Linked DNA regions of Homo sapiens: regions 1, 2 and 3 are each linked to region 4. The links are contacts of gene promoters, found by promoter capture Hi-C in blood cells and fetal thymus (Javierre and others, 2016). All regions are on one chromosome and are shown on one strand. Each heading gives the region's core, a stretch centred on a gene start or on the middle of the fragment in contact. The rest is flanking DNA. Distances are from core to core; before and after follow the strand shown.

Region 1 (3,014 bases), core at 182-2,681, 220 kb before region 4:
TAGTCCTTATGTTTATACCTGAGGATGATCCTTGACACAGACAGCCCACAACAATTGAAAACAAAAACAATAAATAAAAACAAAAACAGCAAACTCTGATTTCCAGAGTTACCATATTACTAGATTCAAGTGTCCAGGGTTCAACAAAAAGCCACAAGGCCTAAAAAGAAACAGAAAATTATGTTTCTTTCAGTGGAAAAAAAAATAAACAGATGCTTTCTGAAAAAGACCTGATGAAAGATCTACTAGACAAAGACTTTAAAACAACTGTCTTGGGATGCTTAAAAACTAAAGGAGATATGGAGAAAGTCAAGAAAACAATGTATGAACAAAATAGAAATAATAGAGATAGAAAACCAAAAAAAGAATTGTAGGGCTGAAAAATATAATAACAAGTAAAATAGAAGAATTCAAAGACATATTTAAGAAGAAAATATTAGCAAATATGAAGATAAGACAATAGAAAATATTGAGTCTGAGGAACAGAAAGAAATTGAAGAGAAGTAAGCAAAACCGAAGGGACATAAGGGACACTATGAAGCCCACCAATATGCACTCATGTGGGAGTACCAGAAGAGAAGAGAGAGAGATGGAAGAGAAGAGAGAATATTTGAAGGAATAATGGCAGAAAACTCCTCAAATTTGATGAAAAACATGAAGTAAATTTCCAAGAGTTTCAGCAAGCTCCAAGAATTTGAACTGAAATAGACACACATGGAGACACATCATAATCAAATCTTGAAAAGCAGAGTGAATCTTGAAATTAGTAAGAAAGAAGTGATTAACACATACATACAGGGATCCTCAATAGTATAAACAGCAGATTTCTGATATGAAACTTTAGAGACTGGAAGGAAATGGGCCAATATATTTAAAGTGCTAAAAGAAAAAAAGAATGTCAACCAAATATCTTTTATCCTGCAAAACTGTCTTTCAGAAGTGAGGGAGAAATTAATACATTTCCCAGTAAACAAAAACTGAGGGAGTTCATTATCTTTAAACCTGCTTTGGAAGAAATGCTCAAGGAAGTTCTGCAGGGTGAAATGAAATGACACTAGACAGTAACTCAAAGCCATATGAAAAAATAAAGATCTTGATAAAGGTAAATACATGGACAATTATAAGTGCTAGTATTTGGAAACAATGCTATTGTTTGTTTTCATCATCATTTAAGAGAATAAAATATTTTAAAAATTCTTAGTATACAAGTAGTATTATTGTAACTTTGGTTGGTGATTCCACATTTTATTTTCTCTTAATTTAAAAAACTAATGTATTTAAAATAATTAATTAGTTTGTGTTTCAGGCCACACAATATATAAAGATGTAATTTTTTGACATCAACAACTTAAAGGTGTGGGGTTGGAGTTTTAAAGAAGCTGAGGTTTTGTATGTAATTGAAGCTAATTTGGAATAAAGTTAAATTAGAGTCTTGTAACTTTAGCATGTTAAGTTTAATCCCCATGGTAGCCACAAATAAAATAGCTATAGGATATACACAGAAGAAAATGAGAAAGGAATTCAAAGTTTCACTGCAAAAATTAACTAAACACAAAAGACAAAAGCGTTGCAGGAAATGAGGACAAAAAAACTATGAAGCATATTGGAAATGAATAGCAAAATGACAGAAGTAAGTCCTTTATCAGGAATTATTGTAAATGTAAATGGATATTAAGCTCTTCAAACAAAAGAGATTGGCAGAATTAATTTAAAAAAAGATCCATCTGTATGCCGTCTACAGTTGATTCACTTGAGATCCAAAGACACAAATAGATTGAAAGTAAAAGGATGAAAAAAATTTTTTCCATGCACAGAGTAGCAAAAAGAAAGCAGGCATGCCCTATATTAATATTAGATGAAATTGATTTTTAGTCAAAAAAGTTCAGAAAAGTCAAAGAAGGACACTATATATTAATAAAGTTTCAATGCAGCAAAATATAAGTTATAACATTTATACACCTAAAAAACACCATCAAAATATATGAAGCAAAAACTAACTGAATTGAAGGGATAGATAGTTCTACAATAATAGTTGGATAATTCAATACCCCATTCTCAATAATGAATACATCAGACAGAAAATAAGTAAGGAAACTGAGGACTCAAACAATATATTAATCCAATTAGATCTAACAGACATATACAGAACACCCTACTCAGTAACTGCATACACATTCTTCTTAAGTGCACATGGGATGTTTTCTAGGATAGACAATATGTTTGGCCAAGTATTAAGCCTCAATAGATTTTAAAAAGTAGTTATCATACATTATGTCTTCTCTGAACACTGTGGGATAAAGTTAGAAATCAATAACAGAAAGAAAACTGAAAAATTCGCAAATTTGTGGAACTTAACACACTCTCCAACAACCAATGGATGAAAGAAGAAATCACAAGGGAAAGTAGAAAACTCTTAGAGATGAGTGAAAACAAAAGCACAACATACCAAAACTTATGGGATGCAGTGGAATCAATGCCAGGGGGCAAATTTGTAGCTATAAATGCTTTCATTAAAGCATTTATAGGATCTCAAATTAGCAACCTATTTTTACAACTTAAGGAACTAACAAAAGAATAAACTAAACCCAAAACTAGAATGAAGGATATAATATCTAAGCAGAGATAAATGAAGTAGAGAATAGAAAAAAAAATAGAGAAAAAGATCAACGAAATTGTCAAACCTGTAGCTGGATAAACTAAGAAAAAGAGAGAAGACTCAAATTATTAAAATCACAAATAAAAGTTGGAACATCTCTACAGATTATAAAGAAATTAAAAACGTTATAAGATAGTAGTAGGAACAATTGTACACCAACTAATTCAATAACCTAGATGAAATGGGCAAATGCAACAATTTTAAAAAGCCATGCTAAAATTGATATAGAAACTCAAGAGACCCTGAATAACAAAACTGGGGGACTCGCATTTTCTGATTTCAAAACTTGTTGCAATACTACAGTAATCAAAACAGTGTCATACCAGCATAAAGGCAGTTATATAGACCAGTGGAATAT
Region 2 (3,376 bases), core at 579-3,078, 240 kb before region 4:
TCACCTGCTCTAGTTCAGGGACTGGAATTTTACCTAAACCGGGACTGAAGCAGAGGAGAGGATCATCAAATACAAATGTAATGATTGCACAAAGAAGGGAATGGAGGTGGTGGGGAGGCAAACAACAAATCTTCATTATGGTGTTTAAGTGGAAAGTTGGAAGAGATTCTGTCAGGATCTGCTAGAAATGCTATTTTAACCTGAAACACTTGTATGCCTCTATAGCACAGATGACTCAGGCATATTGAACCTACAAACAAAATAGAACTTTGAATCTTGAAACTTGTGGGAACGAAATTCTTCAACTGGAAGATAAAACTATAATAATTTTCAATTAAAATTATATTTTGCTGCTTATCTCTCCAATTCTACTCATATTTTGATCTTTGTCATGGGCTTTTTGTCATTTTTTAATTAATTTATTTTGTTCATTAAAACATAGTTATATGTATTTATGGGGCACATATTTATGATACATGCAATATAGAGTAATCAAATCAGGATAGTATATCTGTCACCTCAAATATTTATCATTTCTTGTATTGGGAGCATTCAAAGTCCTCTCTCTGGCTATTTGAAAATATATAATAAATTATCGTTAACTATAGTCTTCCTATAGTGCTTAGAACACTAGATCTTATTCCTTCTATATAGCTGTAATTTTGTATTATTTAATCCATCTTTTCTTATCTCCCCTACCCTGTACCCTTTGTGGCTTCTCATAAGCAGCATTCTACTCTTTAGTTGTATGATACCAACTTTTTTAGCTTCTGCATAAGAGTGAGAACATACAGTATTTACCTTTCTGTTCTTGGCTTATTTCACTTAACATGTCTTCCAGGCTTATCTATGTTGCCATGAATGGCAGCATTTTATTTTTTTATGGCTCAATGGTATTTCATTGTGTATATATACCACATTTTCTTTATCCATTCATCTGCTGATGGACTTTACGTTTGATCCTACATTTTGGCTATAGTGCTGCAGTGCTGCAGTAAACATGGGAGTGGAGATATCTTTTGGATGTTCTGATTTCCTTTTGTCATGGGGCTGTTTAATCAGTAAGTAATGAAATGTAAACTAATAAGAAATGTATTAGAATTGGAAAAATAAAACCCAGTTTTTATTAGCAGTACTGCAAATAGTCTCTATTTCTTAATGCTTTTAAAAATTTACACATAGTCTTTACTAAAATGTCAACATACACATACACACTCATACATATCTCAAATGGAATGTCTCTATCACCAGAAGGTGATTCATATTGAATCAAATTAAGGAAACATCAGTTATTCTTTATACCTACATACATATGTTGTCTTCATACATTTTCTGGTGCTTACAAAAGAATACCTGAAACTGGGTAACTTGTAAAGAAAATAAGTTTATTTCTTACCATTACGGAAGCTAAGAAGTCCAAGGTCAAGAGGCCACATCTGGTAAAAGCCTAAGAGCCTTCCTGCTGGTTGGGACTCTGAAGAGTCCAAAGGCAGTACAGGTAATCACAAGGCGAGGGGGGGTGAGCATGCTAACATGCTTAACATGCTTGTTGAGGTCTCTTCCTACTCTTATAATGCCACCACTTCCCCTCCCATGATAACCTGCTAACCCATTGAGCCACTAATTCATTAATCCATGAATGGATTAATTTGTTCACAAGGGCAGAACCCTCATGATCTAATCAATTTTAAAGGCCCCACGTTTCAATGCTGCCACATTGGGGATTAAGTTTCCAACACATGAAATGTAGGGGATGCAGTCAAACCATAGCAGCAGTCATCAGTAGCTATTTACTATAGTCAGATTGGTGGCCATTTACTGAATTAGAAAAAAACAAGTAGGAGCATATTTTGTGGGGAACATCATAAGTTTTTTTTTAATAACTTAAATTTGAGAATCTATTTAAAATCCATGTGGGGATGTTAAGCAGGAAATTATAAATATGAATTAGACTCAAGATAAAAACTTGGGGGTAAATGTATATGGTATTTAAATTTCTAAAACTGGATGGGATCACCGAGAGAACCGGTGTGGAGAAGAAATCCAAGGACTGATCCCTAGGACGTTCTAAAGTTTGAAGTTCAGGGAGATGATGAGGAATCAAAACAAAAAGATTTTAAAAAAACAATGGGGAGAAGGCACTGAAGTAGTAGGGGAATCAAAAGAAAACACTTTTCTAAAAGGTAAGTGAAAGAGATGTTTCAGGAGGGTGGATTCAACTGTGATCCAACGTGGCAGCTACTGCTGCTAAAGTAGCAAGTAAAATGAGGACCGATCATTGACTAGTGGAGGTTTTACTAATTTTGCTAATTAACAGCCTGCTTCTTAATCCTCAAATGCAGGATGAATACTTCAGTCTTAATTTTACTTGGCCTGTCTGAAATATTTAACCTGCTTGAGAACGTTCTCCTTTGACATTTAACATATTATTTTCTCTATTATTTTTATTTATTGTATCTCTTTGCTTGGTTGTCTTTTCAGACTCCTTTTTCTTTCCTGTACTTATCCCTCAGACATTGGTGTTACTCAAAATTGTGTATGAAATGCTTATCCAGACCTCTGTATTTTAATTTTAGGAATCTCCACCTACATGTCGCACTGACATTTTGCATTCAATATCTTTTAATAGAGCTTTATCGCTTTATCCCAGACCCTGGAGCTCCTACTGAATTCTCTCTCTCAATGAATGGGGCTAAGTTATTCAGTCAGGCAGAAGTCTACAAATCTTAAGTTCTACCTCTCCCTTGCTGCCAGTTAATTAGTTCAGCCCCTTGTCTTTCTCATCTACTTATACATGTTTTGCTACCCTGTCCCCCAGAGGCCTTTTCAAAATAGTGTCAGGATGATATTAGTAAATCACAAAATGGGATTTCTGTGTGATTTTAAAATATCGTTAGCATGTTGAAAATGTTTCAAAGACTCCCCATCTCCTATAAAGTAAAATTCACAGTTCTTACCATGATCTACATGACTTTCCATCATTCTGTCTCGCCTGTCTGTTCATTCTCATGTTCCACTACTCCTTTTTACGTGCCATTATACTTTAGGCACAGAAAAATAATTTCCCTCTCAAAGTTCCAACCTCACCTTTTTTTTATACAGCCTTCTTGGCCACCTAAATCATAGGCACATTTTTCTTTCTGTTCCTCCAAATATGTGTTCATTCTCTATTATAGCAGCTATTGCATATTGTTTCATACATTTATTTGTGTCTATTAGAAATGAAGTCAAGTGCAAATAACAGAAAATCAGTAACTAAAACAGACTTCCTTTTTTTCTTATAACAAGATGCCTGAAGATGGTGCAACAATAGTGTTAGAATTGCAGCATCTCTGCAGTTTTCTTGGCCTTTCCTTCGGGGATGCAAGACAGCTGC
Region 3 (3,218 bases), core at 443-2,942, 150 kb before region 4:
TTTTAAAATAGACAACTTAGAATCCTTAAAAGAATTAATGAAATATAATGAAATTTACATGCATTTTTCCAAAGTGCTTTAAAAATACTCATCTGCAGAATATAGGAATCTATGCATCAATATTATATACAAAAACAACCAAAATGTTCAATAGGAAGATTATTTATATTAAATTACAGTACTTTTCTATATTTCAGTGCTATTAATCCATTAAAAATCATGAAGCTCTATTTTTATTGGCATGATACATGGCTATGAAACAGTTAAATAGAAAGCAGATCACAAAACTATGCATATGCCATATGATTTTGGTTTGAAAATAAATGTGAATGTATGTATTTATTTATGTTTATAGCATATTTAGGAAGATACAGTTTCTTTTAAGAAAATGATAAGATATAAGTACAATATTTTCTCATCTTGAACTTCTAAAATAATGAAGTTTTTCACTTATTTGAACCGTGATTTTTTTATCCCTAGTGGGTGAGTATCCCTATTCATTAAGCAACAGATATTTTCTGAGTATTGTATTAATACAGATTGGCCAAAAGTGTGTGTGAATGACAACGTGTGGGTGGATATGTGTATGTGAATGTGTTTGTGTTGAGACGCGGAAAATACTTGTGAAAGGATAAATGTCCGAAATTACCAGTGGGTTGTGAGATGATGGGATATTTTAACTACTTTATACACCTTGTAGTCTGTGAATTATTTTTTTTAAAAGCTGTGCTTTGTTTTTTTAACATGACAACTAAAAGCTATTTTACATTGAAATTAAAATGCATATGAAAGAAAGTAGGAGTTTTTTAATTATACATTAACTGGTAGTGTTTGAATGTACACTAACAGCTATCCTCTGAGGCAGAAGGTGCAGATGTTAATATCAAGACTCAGAGAGGCTAAATGGCTTGTCTAAGCTTTAAGACTTAAACTAATGACCTCACTTATTATTTTCAGATTTTAAAGATATTTCCATAAATATATGCTCTTAATTCAAATAATTTTATTTATATCATTTAGGACAACTTTAATAAGAAAACCACACTAGTAATAGGAAAAATTTAGTATATGTACTATTTTTTTATTCCTATAAACTTTACTAACATTGTTGTCAAATCAATTATTTTTTCTTTTTTCTTTTTTTTTTTTTTTTGACATGGAATTTCACTCTTGTTGCCCAGGCTGGAGTGCAATGGCACGAGCTCAGATCAGTGCAACCTCTGCCTGCTGGGTTCAAGCGATTCTCCTGCCCCACCCTCCCAAGTAGCTGGGATTACAGGCATGCACCATCACACCCAGCTAATTTTGTATTCTTAGTAGAGACAGGGTTTCACCATGTTGGTCAGCCTAGTCTCAAACTCCTGACCTCAGGTGATCCACCCGCCTCAGCCTCCCAAAGTGTTGGCATTACAGGCATGAGCCACCACGCCTGGCCAAATCAATTATTTTCTAGTGCAAGCTACACACAGTAGAAGAATATAGGCAGTTAGCTAAGACCGCTTTTAATGATAGGGCTAGAATATTATTCACCTCGTCTTTTCATCACACATTCTAAAAGGATATAATTAGACTTTCTGTTCAGACTTCATTAATATCTTTTTAGAAAGACTAGTGAGTATGTGTAAAAGTGTTAATAACTGAACAATTTCACAAGTACAGATGCTCCTCGACTTACCATGGGGTTACAATGGGTAAATCTATCATAAGTCAAAAATATTCTACGTCAAAAATACGTTTAACACACCTGACCTACCAAACATCATAGCTTAACCTAGCCTTCCTTAAACGTGCTCAGAACACTTACATTAGGCTACAGTTGGACAAAGTCATCTAACACAAAGCCTATTTCATAATAATATCTCATGTAATTTAATGAATACTGTACAAAAAGTGAAAAACAGAATGGTGGTGTGGGTACTCACAGTACAGTTTCTACTGAATGCATGTTGCTTTTACACTACCATAAAGTCAAAACATAAGTTGGGGACTGTCTGTAACACTAAAAACTATATATTCACATATGAGGTACTTATATAACTTTTAGAATTTTAAAATAGGATAAAAATTACAAGGATGATCATCTTTTTCTTCTTCTTATAGTCTATTTAAAAACGATATTTAAATGGGAGTGATTTCTTATTTCCTCTATGCCATGAGCATATATCAAGGTGAAGAACCTATGTCTCTATCTAGCCAAGCACAGTACCTACCCTATAGTAGTTGCTTTGTAAATAACTGGCATTTCATGAATAAGGATGGGGAAACAATATCAAACGTTATATATATGAGAGCCCCGTTAATTCAGTTTGTTGTAATTTGTTTGAGAGAGAGATTGAGATGTAAAATGTTCATTTTACCTAATTTTTAAATAAGAAATTTGAAATGATTAAATGAATGTATTAATAAATAAATTGAAACAAACCATGAAACTATTTTATCCACATTGTTTAGCAACAAACTTGAACGTTTAAGCTTCAACAATTATAAACACATCAGAATTTGATATAAAAGGTAACTTAATGCTTAATACATTATAAGGAAGCAGACCAACTTACTTGAGAGAGGATCAGACTCTCAGTTTTAACAGAAAAAGATTTTTTTTTAATGAGGAATGTGGCTTTTTATTTTATAGTAATGAAATTTCATGGATGAAAAAATCTCCATTTCATGGCATTTCAAAATGTCAAAGCTAAAAACTTTTAGAGCTTCTACATTTTTTGTGTCTCTGAAATAAGGTTGCTTTGTTTCAAAAGCCAAGTGACGTTAAATTACAGCGTAGAGGACATGGAATAATGCACACCCTTTATGTTTGGTGCATTTAATGTCGTTTTTGCGCCGTTATGGTCAGTATATTTTTTCTAACATAATTAATTTCATCATTTGGGTGCTAAATGGCATTTTTGGGTACTAACTCCAGTATCACAATCAGGACAATTTACTTCTATTTCTTTTATTAGGTATTTGTGTGATGGAAAACTACTAACTCATTAACTAATATCCCCTCTTACTGTTTTTAGATCTTAAAGGTATTTCCATAAATATATTCTCTTAATTCAAATAATTTCATTTACATCTATTTTAGATAACTTTAATAAGAAAACCATACTAGGAAAGCTGAAAGTATTTTGTACTTACACTATTGCTTTTATCCGTTTGAATTTTAGTAACATTGTTTTCAAATCAATTATTTTCTAGTGTAAGCTACCCACAGTGGAAGA
Region 4 (3,271 bases), core at 66-2,565:
TTTTTTGTTAACAAACTGTGCCAGCCTGGAAGTTAAAAACTAAGATTTTAAACGCAACTAAGGATCTCTCTTTAGTCTCTATTTTATCGATTTTTCATTAGTTGGCTCTATTTGAGCAGGGAGTCTGCCTTATTAGTGCTGTATTCTCAAGGCTTAGAACTATTCCTGGTACACGGTAGGCACTTGGTAATAATCCTACCTGTATGGCTATACAAAAATTAATTGAATGGTCATGAATAATGCAAAGAAGCAAAAGCTTAACAAGAGACAACATAAGCCAGTATCAAGATCAGATGTTCACAGTTTTCTGGTTTGTTCCTGATCACATTCCAGGACAGATATTTTTGTTTGGTTTATGGACTGAAATTTTTAAAAAAAATTTATTTCAGCAGACCCTGAATCCATTTTTATAAAAACCCTTAGCTGTGAAAGGAACAAAGGTTTTGGCAGATAGTATAATCAGAGTCAGGATTGGCTCGGTTTGAACCCTAATGCCCTTCAGGATATTGAAAATGTGATAAAATAATTGCATTATTTATTAATGACCCAACGAAATTCTTATACATTATGCTGTAGAGCAATTCCGCAGCCATTATCTTCTTTGCTCCTAAGAACCCAGAAAGGTTATCCTTTTATTTATCAGAAATCACCATGTTAAAATGCAAATACTTAGGATCGGTAGCCTCAACCCTTATCTTCTAAAACATCTTTAGCTATCCATACAAAGCAAAGCATTAATAGGAATTGGACTGACGTTGGAGGTGGAAATACTGATGCACGTGACAGCTTTAAGGACTTGGGCGGCTAATTCCCCACTCCCCACTGCTCCTCAGATCCTCCAAAAAAAGCTCAAGTCCTAACTTTGACCAGGTTTGACAAAGAAGGGAGAGGACCAGGCGTTTTGTAAAGTGCTGCTTCCAAACGCCACCCGTCAGGACAGATTCTAAACCACCTTAACTTGCTGCCGGTTTCAAGTGAAAATAAATGGTACATAAGTAATCAAGAAGTCGCAGTCCCAGACCTCTGACCAAAGAACCGAAAAAGGACAGCGAACGACCGGTTCCCAATTCTCTGAACCCAAAGGTCGGAGAAGCAATTTAGAAGAGGAGGGGGTGGGTCTTCCACAACAAACCCCGCCCCTCCCTCACTCGTCGCTGATTGGTGGCGGCGTTAGGCCGCGACGGAGGGGCGGGCCCGCGGCTGAGTCTCTCCCTTTCCGCGCCGCCCCGTGCGCGCTGTGGGTGTGTTTCGGGAAGCGGGCGCGCGCGCGCTCGCGTCGGAGGACCGGAAAGGAGGCGGGGCTGCGGCGGCGCGCGCTCCCGGAACGCGCGCACCGCAGACGGCGCGGATCGCAGGGAGCCGGTCCGCCGCCGGAACGGGAGCCTGGGTGTGCGTGTGGAGTCCGGACTCGTGGGAGACGATCGCGATGAACACGGTGCTGTCGCGGGCGAACTCACTGTTCGCCTTCTCGCTGAGCGTGATGGCGGCGCTCACCTTCGGCTGCTTCATCACCACCGCCTTCAAAGACAGGAGCGTCCCGGTGCGGCTGCACGTCTCGCGGATCATGCTGTGAGTGAGGCCGGGCCGGCGGTGCAGGACGCCGGGACCGGGCTGGGGCGGAAGCCGAAGCCGGGCCGCCGCGCCGGGGCTGCCGTGCCGGGGCCGCGGGCAGGGCGTCCGGATCGCCCTCCTGAGCGGCAGTTCGCCCCCGAGGGCGGTCGTCAGGGGTGGACGTCGCAGGCTTTTCCGGCGTCCCCTCGGAACTTGCACCCCTCCACCGTAAATTCCCGGGCTTGCTCTTAAATTTTAATTTTGAGCGTTCCTCAGGTCGGTGCCTCCGCTTGCTTCCTGTTCCTCACTTCCCTCCACCCACGCCTGGCCAATGAGGGAGCAACACAACAGCAGAGCCGGCGCCGCCGCCCGCCTGGGCTGGCGCCTCCCGCGCGTCCGGTGCCGCTCGTGGTCCGCATGCGAGGCCCTCCAGGCGCTGCCGCCGCGCTCTGGGTCGGGCTTCCGTGGGGTTTCCTGGCGGCTCTGGAGGCCACAGGACGGGGTTGTCTTTGTGTCATTCATCACCCGAGTTTGCCCTGTTTGACATTCCCTTTACAGTTGTTGCCTTTGCACCTTCAGAAGGCAGTAAACAGTTGGAGCTGCTTTGAAGTTGGCCAGAGATGTTGGGCACTGAGAGAATTAAGCATCTTAGCCTTCTGATACAGCGAGATTTTTGTTTTGTTGGGTTTCTTTATTTCTTTTTCTTTTGCCAACCACTTGAAGAAGTCTGCGAAAACGCCAAAAAATGCAGTTCGAAATGACAGTGCCATTTCGCTATTGCCTATTTTGTCCTTGATTTTATTCTCTGGCACTTTTGTCTTTAATCGTCGTATTTTTCCATCTCTTGTTCTCATACCCTTCTACTCTATTTCCGTCTTACACAAGTTCTTTAACCTTAGTTTATTTCTTTGTCAGAATCGCCAAGAAGCCAGTTATCAAATAGCGAGCCTTCTCCCCCCACCTTTTTTTTTTTTTTTTAAATTACTGTACTGATGTTTGTTAGATATTGTTCGAATAGACCTGGGGTGGACATCAGCACTGCCATTGTCAGCCCTGTGAGGGTTAGAAGAGCTTGGTGCATATTAAACACTGAACAGATGTTAGCTGTTGTTGTCTTGAGCAAGTTTTCTTACCATTCTGGGCCTTAATTTCTTTTTGTTTAAGATGGAAGTAATACCTAATTTTTAGGTTGTGAGAATTATTTGAAATGTGAAAAATATTGTCAGTGGGTCTGAGCCGTAGTAAACAGTAAATAGCAGCTGGTTACAGTAGTATCCCCTTAATGGGGTAGGTATACGTTCCAAGACCCCCAGTGGATGGCTGAAACCACGGATAGCACCAAACCCTATATATACTTGGTTTTTTCCTATACCGTACATACATACCTACCTATGATAAAACTTACAAGTTAAGCACAATAAGAGATTAACAATAACATAATAGAACTGTAACAATATACTATAATAAAAGTTATGTGAATATGATCTCTTTCCCCTTCTCTCAAAATAACTTATTTTACTGGACTCACCTATTTTCACACCAGATTGACCGCGGATAATTGAAACCGGAAAGTGAAACCTCGGATAAGGGGGTGATTACTGTATCACCCTTTAATATGCCATCTGTTAGTATTCGTATCACCTTGTAGTCATGTGTAGCTTTCTTCTACCCATTCTGCAAAATTGCTTTACATCAAGTATTTACTATTCTTTTTAGCAGT

Evidence for each region. Contacts are between HindIII fragments. The CHiCAGO score rates a contact against its expected background, and 5 or more counts as called.
Region 1: a fragment that was not itself captured here is called in contact with the fragment with the promoter of SPCS3 in region 4 in 1 of 17 cell types (monocytes); the score reaches 6.5 in monocytes.
Region 2: a contact is called between a fragment that was not itself captured here and the fragment with the promoter of SPCS3 in region 4, in 1 of 17 cell types (monocytes). The highest score is 7.6, in monocytes.
Region 3: a fragment that was not itself captured here is called in contact with the fragment with the promoter of SPCS3 in region 4 in 4 of 17 cell types (total CD8 T cells, monocytes, naive CD8 T cells and 1 more); the score reaches 6.9 in total CD8 T cells.

The regions. Positions count from the first base shown.
Region 1 is chr4:176,103,243-176,106,256 of GRCh38, forward strand. All of the region lies in intron 1 of WDR17 (WD repeat domain 17), which reads left to right. Among named protein-coding and RNA genes, the nearest start is that of WDR17, 39 kb to the left of the region's middle. The HindIII fragment of the contact is 3,686 bases long and covers 1-3,014 here.
Region 2 is chr4:176,078,331-176,081,706 of GRCh38, forward strand. The region is part of intron 1 of WDR17 (WD repeat domain 17); the gene reads left to right. Among named protein-coding and RNA genes, the nearest start is that of WDR17, 14 kb to the left of the region's middle. The HindIII fragment of the contact is 5,497 bases long and covers 1-3,376 here.
Region 3 is chr4:176,169,180-176,172,397 of GRCh38, forward strand. It overlaps WDR17 (WD repeat domain 17), which reads left to right. Exons shown (of 29, transcript NM_181265.4): 24 at 3,196-3,218. Among named protein-coding and RNA genes, the nearest start is that of SPATA4, 25 kb to the right of the region's middle. The HindIII fragment of the contact is 1,555 bases long and covers 916-2,470 here.
Region 4 is chr4:176,318,651-176,321,921 of GRCh38, forward strand. SPCS3 (signal peptidase complex subunit 3) reads left to right here and starts at 1,316. Exons shown (of 5, transcript NM_021928.4): 1 at 1,316-1,569. The coding sequence starts at 1,427. SPCS3-AS1 (SPCS3 antisense RNA 1) reads right to left here and starts at 1,860. Exons shown (of 4, transcript NR_186171.1): 1 at 1,495-1,860. RefSeq lists an enhancer at 1,127-1,627 and silencers at 1,610-1,729, 1,850-1,919, 1,950-2,029. The HindIII fragment of the contact is 6,231 bases long and covers 255-3,271 here.